Regions from separate parts of the Homo sapiens genome. Here region 2 is linked to region 1. The links are contacts of gene promoters, found by promoter capture Hi-C in human tissues and cell types (Jung and others, 2019). All regions are on one chromosome and are shown on one strand. The core of a region is centred on a gene start or on the middle of the fragment in contact, and the rest is flanking DNA. Distances in the headings are between cores, read along the strand shown.

Region 1 (6,630 bases), core at 2,687-5,186:
TTCCTCATTTGTAAAATAAGATAATAAAATTTACCTCTTAGGATGTTATAAGGCAGAAGTTCTGAAACTTTTTGGCCTCAGAGCCCCTTTACACTAAAACAATATTTAAAGAGTTTTTGTTTGTTTGTTTGTTTTTGTTTTTTTTTGTTTGTTTTTTTGAGACAGAGTCTCACTCTGTTGCCCAGGCTGGAGTGAAGAGGCATGACCTTGGCTCACTGCAACCTCCGTCTCCTGAGTTCAAGGAATTCTCGTGCCTCAGCCTCCCTAGTAGCTCGTATTACAGGCACGGGCCACACACCGGCTAATTTTTATATTTTTAGTAGAGACAGGATTTCACCATGTTGGGCAGGCTGGTCTCAAACTCCCGATCTGAGGTGATCCGCCCACCTCAGCCTCCCAAAGTGCTAGGATTACAGGCGTAAGCCACTGTGTCTAGCCTTGAAAGAGCTTTTGTTAGGTGAGTTATATCTGCTCATATCTACTGTAAATAGAAATTTATAATCCCAGCTAACTCAGGAGGCTGAAGTGGGAGGACCGCTTGAGCCCAGGAGTTTGAGGCTGCAGTGAGCTACGATCGCACCACTGCACTACCTTGGGCAACAGAACTAGACCCTGAAAAGAAAGAAAGAAAGAAAGAGAGAGAGAGGGAGGGAGGGAGGGAGGGAGGGAGGGAGGGAGGGAGAGAGAAAGAGAGAGAAAGGAAAGAAAGAAAGAAAGAAAGAAAGAAAGAAAGAAAGAAAGAGAAAGGAAAGGAAAGGAAAGGAAGAAAGAAAGGGGAGGGGAGGGGAGGGAAGGGAAGAAGAAGAAAAAGAAAAGAAAAGAAAAGAAATTTAAACTGATGCTTTAAAAAATATTAATTAAAAAATAGTCCGGGAGGATGGCTTATGCCTGTAATCCCAGCACTTTGGGAGGCTGAGGCAGGCAGATTGCCTGAGGTCAGGAGTTCGAGATCAGTCTGGCTAACATGGTGAAACCCCCTCTCTACTAAAAATACAAAAAAATCGGCCAGGCATGGTGGCATGCGCCTGTAATCCTAGCTACTTGGGGGCTGAGGCAGGGAAATTGCTTGAACCTGGGAGGTCGAAGCTGCAGCGAGCTGAGATCGAGCCACTGCACTCTAGCCTGGCGACAGAGGGAGACTCTGTCTCCAAAAAAAAAAAAAAAAATTAGTAAACACATTACACGTTAACATAAATTTTTTTAACTTTTTATTTTTTTAGAAACAGTCTACCTACATTGCTCAGGCTAGACTAGAACTCTTGAACTCAAGGGATCCTCCCACTGGAGTAGCTGGAACTACAGGCTCACGCCACCGTGCTAGATAACGTATGAGTTTTTTTGTTGTTTTTGAGACAGGGTCTCCCTATGTCACCCAGGTTGGAGTGCAGTGGTGTAATCACAGCTCACTGCAACCTCTGCTCCCTGGGACTCAAGTCATCCTTCCACCTCAGTCTCCCGAGTAGCTGGGACTACAGGCACTTGCCACCAGAGTCGGGTAATTTTTATTTAATTAATTAATTAATTTATTTATTTATTTATTTTGAGACAGAGTCTCGCTTTGTCACCCAGGCTGGAGTGCAGTGGCACGATCTCGATCTCAGCTCACTGCAACCTCTGCCTCCCGGGTTCAAGTGATCCTCCTGCCTCAGCCTCCTGAGTAGCTGGGATTACAGGCGCCTGCCACCACGCCTGGCTAATTTTTTTTTTTTTTTGTATTTTTAGTAGAGATGAGGTTTCACCATGTTGGCCAGGCTGATCTTGAACTCCTGACCTCAACTGATCTGCCCCCCTTGGCCTCCCAAAGTGCTGGGATTACAGGCATAAGTCACTGCAACCAGACTTTTTTTTAAATAGAGACGGGGTTTTGCCATGCTGCCCAGGCTGGTCTCGAAATCTTGGGCTCAAGTGATCCTCCAGCCCTGGCCTCCCAAAGTGCTAGGATTACAAGCATGAGCCACTGTGGCCAGGAGTATTTATTTTTATTTTTTATTTTTCTGAGACAGAGTTTCGCTCTGTCGCCCAGTTTGGAGCATAGTGGTGTGATCTCAACTCACTGCAACCTCTGCCTCCCAGGCTCAAGGGATCTTCCCACCTCAGCCTCCCAAATACCTGGGACTACAGGCTCTCACCACCACGTCTGGCTAATTTTTTTATTTTACTTTTTTTTTTTTCTTTTTTTTTTTTGAGACGGAGTTTCGCTCTTGTTGCCCAAGCTGGAGTGCAGTGGCACGATCTTGGCTCACTGCAACCTCTGCCTCCCAGGCTCAAATGATTCTCGCGCCTCAGCCTCTTGAGTAGCTGGGATTACAGGCACATGCCACCATGTCTGGCTAATTTTTGTATTTTTAGTAGAGGCGTGGTTTCACCATGTTGGCCAGGCTGGTCTCGAACTCCTGAGCTCTAGAAATTTTCCCACCTCGGCCTCCCAAAGTGCTGGGATTACAGGCGTGAGCCACCCCGCCTGGCCTTAATTTTTTTTTTTTTACTATTTATTTATTTATTTATTGTATTATATTATTATTTTGAGATGGAGTCTTGCTCTGTCACCCAGCCTGCAGTGCAGTGGCGCGATTTCGGCTTGCTGCAACCTCCGCCTCCCGGGTTTAAGCAACTCTCTGCCTCAGCCTCCTGAGTAGCTGGGATTACAGGCATGCGCCACCATGCCCGGCTAATTTTTGTATTTTTAGTAGAGACGGGGTTTCACCACCTTGGCTAGGCTGGTCTTGAACTCCTGACCTCGTCCACCTCAGTCTCCCAAAGTGCTGGGATTACAGGCGTGAGCCACCGCGCCCGGCCAACTTTTAGATTTTTAATCAATACGTGCCACGTTGGGGTGCGCTTTATGGCTACAAGGGCATTAAGATTTCTTCCCTCAAGGAGCCAAGATCTGACGGTGGAAACCTACCTGCAACCACACGGTGAAAACTCAGGATGCTAAGAGCAATCCTGATGGGGCAAGCAGGGGACTGTGAGTTTGCAAGGGGGTCCTTAACTCCTGCGTGGGGGGCGGGGAGGGTGGATGGGGTTCTGGGTTCAGGAAACGTTCTCCCGGGAGTGGGAGGGGGTCTGATGGACAAGTGGATTTGGCCAGCCCAAATGGACAGGGGGCCTTGGGACAAGAGAACTCGTGGTGCTGGAATGCCAAGCGGGCTTCGCTCTACTGTGAAGTGGCGTTCATGTCACAAGGAGCCAGTGATGGATGTGGCTCGGGGAGGCGCGCCCTGGGGCTCCGGGGATCCAGCATTCCTCGACACGTCGGCCCCTCTCCGGGCGCCTCTGCAAGTCCGCCTGGTGGCCGGGTCTGCGCGGAGTGTCTGCGGGCCGGGGGGGGTCCCCGTTCTCTTCCTGGGATGAGCCCCAGCCCGGGGACCTCCTCGTGACCCCTCCATCCCTCTCCAAGGCCGGGGCCGCTACCCGGAGCAGCGAATCGTCCCGCGAGACCAGCGCCCCCGGCCCCCTCTCCCGGGGCGGCCTGGACCCCTCCCGGCGGCCGGGTGGTGGGAGGAGTCAGCGCCGGGCGGGGGAGGGGCGGCCGGGGCACGGGTGAGGGGCGCCGCGGGTCCGGCGGCTGGAGAGGGGGGCCCGGAGTGCAGGCCGCGGAGTCGGCGCTTGGGGGGGTACCCCGGGGCGCCCCCGGGCGGCGGAAAGCGGGCGCGCCCCTGGCCAGGCCGGGATTGGGGCGGGGCGCGCGGCCTCCCTGTGGGGAAGCGATCACCCGGCCTCGCAGCCGCCGCCGCCAAAGTTTCCCGGAGGAGCCGCGGGCCGCCCTTCCTCTCCGGCCCCGCGCTCTGCCGCCCCTCAGGCCCGCACCGCCCCGAGGCGCCCGGCCCGGCTCCATTGAGCGCAACTCGGATCCCAACTTGGGAGGCGCCGCGGGCCTGCGCACGCGCGCGCCCTCCCCGCTGCCGCCGCCGCCGCCGCCGCCGCCGCCGCCCACTCGGGAGCAGCTCCGGGCCGAGCCGGGCGCCCAGACCCCGGGCCCGCACACCCCGCGCCGCCGCCCGTGCCCGCGCCCGCGCCCGCCGCCCGCTGCCCGCTGCGCCCTCGCCCCAGCGCCCGCTGAGCGCGCCCGCCCGCGGCCCAGGCTGGGCCCGGCCGGCCCGGCCCTCGACAGCGGCAAGTTTGGGAGTTGCACGAGTTTGCGGGGCGGGGGACAGGCCAGGAGGGTGGCCATGGAGGAGGAGCGGGGGTCGGCGCTGGCGGCCGAGTCGGCGCTGGAGAAGAACGTGGCCGAGCTGACCGTCATGGACGTGTACGACATCGCGTCGCTTGTGGGCCACGAGTTCGAGCGGGTCATTGACCAGCACGGCTGCGAGGCCATCGCGCGCCTCATGCCCAAGGTCGTGCGCGTCCTGGAGATCCTGGAGGTGCTGGTCAGCCGCCACCACGTCGCGCCCGAGCTGGACGAGCTGCGCCTGGAGCTGGACCGCCTGCGCCTGGAGAGGATGGACCGCATCGAGAAGGAGCGCAAGCACCAGAAGGTGGGCGGCGGCCTCGGTCTGTCCGTCCGGGCAGTGGGACCGCGGGGACCCAAGGGCTCTTCCGCATTGGGCAGCTGTGGGTGCGCACGTGTGTGTGTTCAGGGACCGGACCAGAGGAGACCCGACGTGGGGAGGGAGGGAGGCCCTGGCCTTCTTTTGCCCGACCAGGGGTGGCTGGCAGATACCACCCGAGAGATTAAGAGCTGTTCTCTGGAGTTCCAATCCCACCTTTACCGTTTAATAGCTGTGTGACTTTAGGTAAGTTACTTAACCTCTCTGTGCTTTATTTCCTCACCTGTCAAATGGTAATCATAATAGGACCCACCTTAGAAGAATTAAATGGGACCATATAAGCTAAGTGCTTAGACATATTATTCTCTTCCAGACATGAAATAAGCCTCTTGGCCTCCCGAGTTACCAAGAAGATGTGACATCAGGCCCAGGACCCTTTCTTCATCCCCCCCCCCCCCAGTCTCCCCAGAGCAAAGGGAATGTGACCTCCAGCCACTGAGCTTCGTGACCCCTAGTCTTCGGGTTCATATTTGCAACTTTCTTCCCGGGACTCCCCTAGCTTATGAACCTGTGGTAGCCCGTGTTCTCTCCTCTGATTTTATCCTTAATCCTCACAGGACTCTATAGAGACTATCTTCATTTTACAGATAAAGAAACCGAGGGTCACAGTGGGAGGAGCAATTTGTCCCAAATTAGTGGTGAGAGAGTCCCAGCCCCCGTGTCTCCTCCCCACCCTGTTTGAATTGGGGGAAAGGGATGATTTGGGGTGGCTTTAAGGCTAAGCCTCTGCCCTGTGATCAGGAGTCTCTCTGAATCAGGGCCTCCCCACTGGGCCTGGAGTTCAGACGAGGTTTCTGGAGAAAAGGAAGTGAAAGACATGTGGTTTCCTGCCCTAACCTCAGCCAGGGATGCTCTTGGCAGCCCCTTCAGACTGAGAATGGGAGGAAACACCTTTCCTTGAGGGATCAGGGTGCCTGAGCAGTCTCCAGCTTGCTGTTCAGCCTCAGGAAATACAGATGGCCTCTCTGAACCTCAGGGGCAGGCCATCCCTTATTGTGTACTTTGATGGATCTCTGTGTTTTGGAGTAAAATAGCCAAAGCTGGGTCTGAACCCTTTACCTGAGGGCAGACCCACAGGTAGGTAACAGCACCATTGCCATGTTTGACTGTGCTCGTCCTCATGGGTCCCTATGCCCTAGGGGCAGGAAGGAAACTCAGGCTCCCAAGAGTTGAGCAGCATTTCCGAGGTCACTCTGGGAGCCTGAAAATGCTTTGACCTGTAATTAATTTCAAGACTCCTAGAAGCTAGGACTTTGGAGCTAGACAGCCTGGTTTCAAACCCTACCACTTGCAGGCTGTGTGATCTTGGGCAAATCACCCAGCATCTCTGTGCTTCAGTTTCCTCAGTTCTAAAATGGGATAGTAATAGTACCCCCATTAGAATGTGATGAGGTTTAAAGAGTTAATATAAATACATATAAAGTGTTCAGGACAGAGCCTGCCCATAGCAAGGGCTTTGCAAGTCTTAAAATTCTTTTTAGGCCTGGAGAGACATTCATTGAGGTGCTCACAGGCTCATATTAGGAAACCGTCCCCACCCCAAGCACCTCTACTCCTACCCTAGAGGCCTCCATCTCTCATAGAGGGTCAAGGAGGCAAGGGACCTTGGAAATTCTCTCGTGTGGCGCCTCTTATTAACAGGGACCAAGGGGCTTTGACCAGATCACACAGAAGTCCTGGCACCTATACTGTCCCCCAACTGGGGCTCTTTAGTTCTGTTGCGGGGGAGCTGGGAGAAATCCTTGGAAGCCATCGGAGGCCACCAGGTCTGAAGTCACATGGAATTGTCAGCAGCTGCACTTGTTGCCTCTGGAAAGTGTTCAGCTGGGAAGTGAACACCGTGCGCTCAGGGCCAGGGCTTGTTGACTTACATTGAGGATGACCTCTCTAAATCAAGGATGCAATTCTTTTCCCACCCCAGCCCCAGACCCGTTTACTTCACATTCTTGGGATGGAGAGAGACTTGTATGATTTTTTTTTTTTTTTCCTGCAGAGTCTCAAAGGCTCTTCAAGGTGATATTTCCACAAAAATGTTTTTGGCATGTCCTGGTTTAGTCTGTCCACCTCCATTCCTCTT
Region 2 (6,630 bases), core at 2,981-5,480, 240 kb before region 1:
AATGTTCTAAAATGTCTGTTTATTAGCTGAGATGCTGATATAAAGACGCCTCTCACAGCTACTGCTAGATGATCCCGTACATTTCATATGGGGAAGGCAACATAAATGCTTGACTCCTCTTTATTTGCCCAATTTTTGAAATAGTACAGTGGTCCCCTATCATCCTCCAGAAATGACCCATCAGGACTTTTAAAGATCATTATAAATTCATGGATTTGAAAAGCTGGGCATGGTAGCTTATGCCTGTAATCCAGCACTTTGAGAGGCCAAGGCGGGAAAATCTCTTGAGCCCAGGAGTTCGAGAACAGCCGGGGCAACATAGGGAGACCCCATCTCTACAATTAAAAGAAAAAAATTAGGCCGGGCACGGTGGCTCACACCTGTAATCCCAGCACTTTGGGAAGCCGAGGCGGGTGAATCGCGAGGTCAGGAGATCGAGACCATCCTGGCTAACATGGTGAAAACCCATCTCTACTAAAAATACAAAAAATTAGCCAGGTGTGGTGGCGGGTGCCTCTCTCTAGTCCCAGCTACTCGGGAGGCTGAGGCAGGAGAATGGCATGAACCCGGGAGGCAGAGGTTGCAGTGAGCTGAGATCGCACTACTACACTCCAGACTGGGCGACACAGTGAGACTCCGCCTCAAAAAAAAAAAAATGAGACAGTCTTAGTGGTGTGCACCTATAGACCCAGCTACTCCGGAGGCTGAGATGGGAGGATCACTTGAACCTGGGAGTTTGAGGCTGCAGTGAGATGTGATTGTGCCACTGCACTATAGCCTGAGCAATAGAGTAAGAACTGTGTCTCTTAAAAAAATGTTTTTAACTCATGCATTTGAACATATATATTTTTTTTCTTTTTTTTTTGAGATGGAGTCTCTTTCTGTCACCCAGGCTGGAGTGCAGTGACATGACCTCAGCTCACTGCAACCTCCACCTCCTGGGTTCAAGCAATTCTCCTCCCTCAGCCTCCCAAGTAGCTGGGACTACAGGTGCATGCCACCATGCCCAGCTAATTTTTGTAATTTTAGTAGAGATGGAGGTTTCGCCATATTGATCAGGCTGGTCTCGAACTCCTGACCTCAGGTGATCCATCCACCTTGGCCTCCCAAAGTGCTGGGATTACAGGCACGAGTCACTGCGCCTGGCTGTATTTGAATATATTTTCTATGCTTCAACCCACTGCAATTTTATCCTTACTGAAGGTCAAAATATCCCATCTGTGGCTGGCATGAGCCTCTTCAAGTTGAGCCCTGTGTCCTTTAGACATGACTGGTTGTCATAATGCATATAACCACTAAGAATTAATTATACATCATGTTTTGATGTCATCTTATTTATTTTTCATTTTTTTTTTTTAGAGATGGAGTATCTCTCTGTCACCCAGGCTGTAGTACAGTGGCATGACCACCATGCACTGCAACCTTAAACTCCTGGGTTCAAGCGATCCTCCCACTTCAGCCTCCAGAGTAGCTGGGACTACAGACACCCACAGCCATGCCCAGCAGATTTTTCTTTTTCTTTTTGGTAGAGATGGGGTTGATGTTATTTTGTTATTTTAGAATGAAAAGTTCAGTTTGCATAAGAAGGTAGCCAGTGTGGCCAGATATGGTGGCTCATGCCTGCAATCCCAACATTTTGGGAGGCCGAGGAGGGCAGATCACTTGAGCCCAGGAGTTTGAGACCAGCCTTGGCAACATACTGAGACACCGTCTTTAAAAAAAAAATACAAAAATCATCCAGGCATTGTGGCGTGCACCTGGCTAATTTTTAGTAATCCTCCCAGCTACTCAGGAGGCTGAGGTGGGAGGATCGTTTAAGCCTGGGAGGTTAAGGCTGCAGTGAGCCATGCTCGCGCCACTGCACTCCAGCCTAGGTGGCAGAATGAGACGCTGTCTCAAAAATAAGTAAATAAAAATAAATAAATAAATAAGAAGGTAGCCAATGTTCTTGAGTCCTCCAAAGTCACACTAGAAAAAGACATCATCCCGATGAAGGAGGTTGTCTTCAGGTAGAAAGTCCCTTGTGTGCAGGCAGCTCAGTGGGGAGGGCCCCACAGCCTAACTCACAGGATGACTTGTACTCCGTGAGACCTCGTCTGCTCCCATCCCCAGAACTGCTCACATGGAAGTCACCCAGGGCCAAGCCCTCCAGCTCTTCTTTGCCTGTGCCTTCTTGACTTCCAGCAGCAAGTGGCACGGCGGGCCCCTCCCTTCTTCAGTGAAGCATTGTCTTCTCTTGGCTTCTGGATCACCCACGTCCTAACTTTCCTCTCCCCTCATCTCTTCCATCTCTACTCCCTCCCTTGGTTGTTCCACCCAGTCCCTTGGTTTTACACCATCTCTGTGCTGATGATGCCCATGTTTTAAAGCATCACTCTGGTTGGCATGTGGAGAAGGCAGCGTAGAGGGTAAGAACAGAAACTGAGGGATCTTTTTGGAGGCTCCTGCGATAGTCCAAGCAAAAGAGGATATTGTGTTGGTTTGGACTTTTTTGTCCAAATCTTCTCAGTGAAGTCTTCCTGGCCACCCTATCTAAAATTGCAAAAGCCCCACCTTTCCACCTATCAACTTTCCCTCTCCCCCTTGTTTCCTTTTTCTTTCCTATCTGGCTTCATTTTTCTCCCTAACTCTTGTTGCTGTCTAACACACTATATATTTTCTCATTGATCTTGGTTAATGTACATCTTCCTGTCTAGAATGAAAGCTCCACGAGGCAGAGACCTTGTCTCAGTTGTTCATTGCTATGAAATACAGTAGGTGCTCAATGAATATTTGCTAGACGGATGCCCTGAGTTCCCCGCAGAGCTCCAGATTCATACATCCTGCTTCACGTCTTGATTTGAATGTCTAAGAGGCCACCTGTGCTTAACATTATACATCATGTTTTGATGTTATCTTAATTTATTTTTCTTTTTTTTTTTTTTAGAGATGGAATATCTCTCTGTCACCCAGGCTGTAGTGCAGTGGCATGACCACCATACTCTGCAACCTTCCCGTCTAGAATGCAAAATACAACACTTGAGTTTCCCTCCATATCTGTTTCTCCCCATCCTCCATCTCAGTAATGACTTCACCATCCTCCCAGTTTCTCAGGCCCAAATCCTAAGAGTCATTCTTTTTTAAATTTTTTTTTAGAGATGGGGCCTTGCTATATCGCCCAGGCTGTTCTCAAACTCCTAGCCTCAAGCGATCCTCCCGCCTCACCCTCCTAAAGTGCTGGGACCAAGAGTCATTCTTGGTACTCTCTATTCTTGTGATACTCTTCAAAGCCTCCAGATCCCGGTCATTAGCAAGTCCCATGGCCTGATCCTCAAGGCATTCCTCACACTGTCTGCTTCTCCCTCCCTCCCCTGATTGGAGCCTAAATAACCATCACCCTTGATGTGGTTTGGCCGTGTCCCCACCCAAATCTCATCTTTAATTGTAGTTCCCATAATCCCCACGTGTCATGGGAGAGACCTGGTGGGAGGTAATTGAATGATGGGGGAGGTTACCCCCATGCCACTGTTCTCATGATAGTGAGTGAGTTCTCATGAGATCTGATGGTTTTATAAGCGGCTTTTCCCTCTTTGCTCAGCACTTCTCCTTCCTGCCGTCATATGAAGAAGGATGTGTTTGCTTCCCCTTCCACCATGATTTTAAGTTTCCTGAGGCCTCCACAGCCATGCAGAACTGTGACTCAATTTAGCCTCTTTCCTTTATAAATTATGGGCAGTTCCCTACAGCAGCATGAAAATGGACTAATACAGCCCTCCACCTGGGCTCTTCCATGGCTTTCTATTTGGTCTTTCCTTCCCCTCCACCCCAGCAATATGTTTTCCCACAATAGCCAGAGGTAAAATGCAAACCAGATCCTGTTGTTCCCCTGCTTAAACCTGCCTTCATTTCCAGCCCTCCCTCCAGCCACAGTGGCCATCCTCCTGCTACTGGGCCAAGCTGAGGCTGCTTCTACCTCAGGGCCTTTGCACCTGCTGTTCTCTCTGCCCAGCATGCTCTTCCTCCACATCCTATCATGTCTGATGCCTTGGCCTCATTTGGGTCTCAGTTCAATATCACCTCTTCCTTCCTTCCCTAGTGCATTTCCCTAATAACTTATCATTCATGAAAAAGGCCTGCTGATGAGTTTTTCATTTTTTTGGTCTATAAAGCTCAGGCCAAGCATGGTGGCTCATGCCTGTAATCACAGCACTTTGGGAGGCCAAGGCGGGCAGATTGTTTGAGCCCAGGAGTTGGAGACCAGCCTAGGCAACATGGTGAGACCCTGTCTCTACAATAAGTACAAAAATGAGCCAGGCATGGTGGTGTATGCCTGTAATCCCAGCCACTCAGGAGGCTGAGGCAGAAGGATCACTTGAGAGTTGAGGCTGCAGTGAGCCGTGATTGGGCCACTGCACTCCAGACTGGATGGCGGAGAGACCCTGTCTCGAAAAACAATAAAAATAAAAAAGAAAGCTTAGACATCACATCCTCAGCAAGGCCATTCCTCACCATGCCCTCTGCACACACACAGTGCACATGCCTATTTCTGTCTCATATCAGGGTTTATTTTCCTCATGCCACTTGTCGGTATTTTCTCATAGATGTGCTTGTGTGCCATGTCTTTCCCCTACATAAGCTCCTGGAGAGCAGGGCCATTGCCTGTCCTGTCCACTGCTTGACCCTCAGTGTTGGGAGCAAGACCCCAAAATCTGGCCACAAACTGGCCCCAAAACTGGCCATAAATAAAATCTCTGCAGCATGGTAACATGTCCATAATGGCCCCAACGCCCAAGCTGGAAGGTTGTGGGTTTACGGGAATGAGGGCAAGGAACACCTGGCCCGCCCAGGGTGGAAAACCGCTGAAAGCCATTCTTAAGCCACAGGCAATAGCATGAGCGATTTATGCCTTAAGGACATGCTCCTGCTGCAGTTAACTAGCCCACCTATTTCTTTAATTCGGCCCATCCCTTCGTTTCCCATAAGGGATACTTTTAGTTAATTTAATATCTATAGAAACAATGCTAATGACTGGTTTGCTGTTAATAAATATGTGGGTAAATCTCTGTTTGCGGCTCTCAGCTCTGAAGGCTGTGAGACACCTGATTTCCCACTTCACACCTTTATATTTCTGTGTGTGTGTCTTTAATTTCTCTAGCGCCGCTGGGTTAGGGTCTCCCCAACCGAGCTGGTCTCAGCACCTCAGTGCCCATAACAGCACCTGAGACAGAAGAGCTGCCCGCTACCTATTTGTGGAATAAACAAACCACATGACCTCAACTTTAGAAATACTAGAATTTCTTCCTTTCTCCATGTTTACCTGACATATAATATTCTTCAGAAAATGGAGCACATTAGCGTTTATAATTCCATACTCCAGTGTTTCTGGCATAATTTCCATAGCTTCCTTCATGTCGGTAGCTTCAGAGATTGCCTCTAAAGAAGAACAGGTGTAGAATGTAAGGTCAGTGGGAGAGAGCAGCCAACAGTTAACATTTCCAAGAGAACAGGAATCTTCTCCTTCTTCCCAAGCTGCTACAAGGAATGTTCTGGTTACAGATTCAGAATATCCCCTATTTGTGTTTAAACAAATCTGAGGGCCCATGAGAAGCTGAAATGGATACCAATGCACTGTGGTTCGTGGATTAGTATGAACAGTGCACAAGAGCTGCACACATTTGCTGATCTGGTTGGAGTATCTAACGCTGGACAAAATCAGAAATTATTTGGGTTGTCTAGAAATGTTGGCTGGATTCTTTGCTGCTATGGACTGAATGACCCCAAAATCCACATGTTGAAGCTTAAATCCCCAAGGTGAAGGTATTAGAAGGTGGGGCCTTTGGTAGGTGATTAGGTCATGAGGGTGGAGTCTCACGATTGGATTGGTGTCCCTATAGGAAGAGACAGGAGAGCTTGCTCTCTCTCTCTCTGCTCTCCACCATGGGAGGATAGGAGAAGGTGCCATCTGTGAACCAGGAAGTGGCCCTCACCAGATGCCAGATCTGCCAGCACCTTGATTTGGACTTCCCAGCCTCCAGAGCTGTGAGAAATAGATGTTTGTTGGTGAAGCCCCCCAGCCTATGGCAATTTGTTACAACCATCCAAGCTGGCTTGGGCATGGGCTTTGCCTGTCTTCACTCCCCAGCAAGTCTTCCTCAATTCATTGCCAAAGCATATTTTGAGTCATGGGTTGTTTGAAAAGACCTACTTGGTAATATCTACCCTTCCAACAAACAAGGTTTTATTTGATATGTATTTGCTCTACCTGACCAAAAATCAATCACCATGGTAAACATTTTAAAGGTTACTTGGACTCTTCCCTTGATCTAACTGGGAAACAAAAGAGACACAAGAAATATGCCCACTGAAGCCATTATTTCACAAGTTTCAGTCTTCACACCTTCTCCAAATATGTGCAGACATGCACTATCACTGGCTGAATACATTTCTTTATCTCTAACACTTCTTTACTGGAAATTAGCTTTGAGAAGACTACGTAAGAACCCAGTACAGTATGGAAAAGAAAGAGAGCTTGGCATAGGTGAAAGATAACCATAAAAAGACAACAGAATGAGAGTGAACAAGTGCATGCACAACCACACCCCCTCAACACACATACACACACACGTGCCAGAAATGTACCTTTGGTATTTC

The links. Contacts are between HindIII fragments. The study calls those that stand out against the background at their distance.
Region 2: a fragment that was not itself captured here is called in contact with the fragment with the promoter of RILPL1 in region 1 in 2 of the 25 tissues and cell types used here (lymphoblastoid cells and spleen).

Annotation. Positions count from the first base shown.
Region 1 is chr12:123,531,025-123,537,654 of GRCh38, reverse strand. It overlaps RILPL1 (Rab interacting lysosomal protein like 1), which reads left to right and starts at 3,936. Exons shown (of 7, transcript NM_178314.5): 1 at 3,936-4,481. The coding sequence starts at 4,173. MIR3908 (microRNA 3908) reads right to left here and starts at 1,246; the gene lies at 1,121-1,246. RefSeq lists silencers at 3,008-3,193, 3,213-3,902 and an enhancer at 4,118-4,935. The HindIII fragment of the contact is 25,082 bases long and covers 1-6,630 here.
Region 2 is chr12:123,772,931-123,779,560 of GRCh38, reverse strand. It overlaps DNAH10 (dynein axonemal heavy chain 10), which reads right to left. Exons shown (of 79, transcript NM_001372106.1): 4 at 6,619-6,630; 5 at 5,297-5,412. The region is part of intron 4 of LOC105370044 (a long non-coding RNA gene); the gene reads left to right. Among named protein-coding and RNA genes, the nearest start is that of DNAH10, 14 kb to the right of the region's middle. The HindIII fragment of the contact is 6,321 bases long and covers 1,070-6,630 here.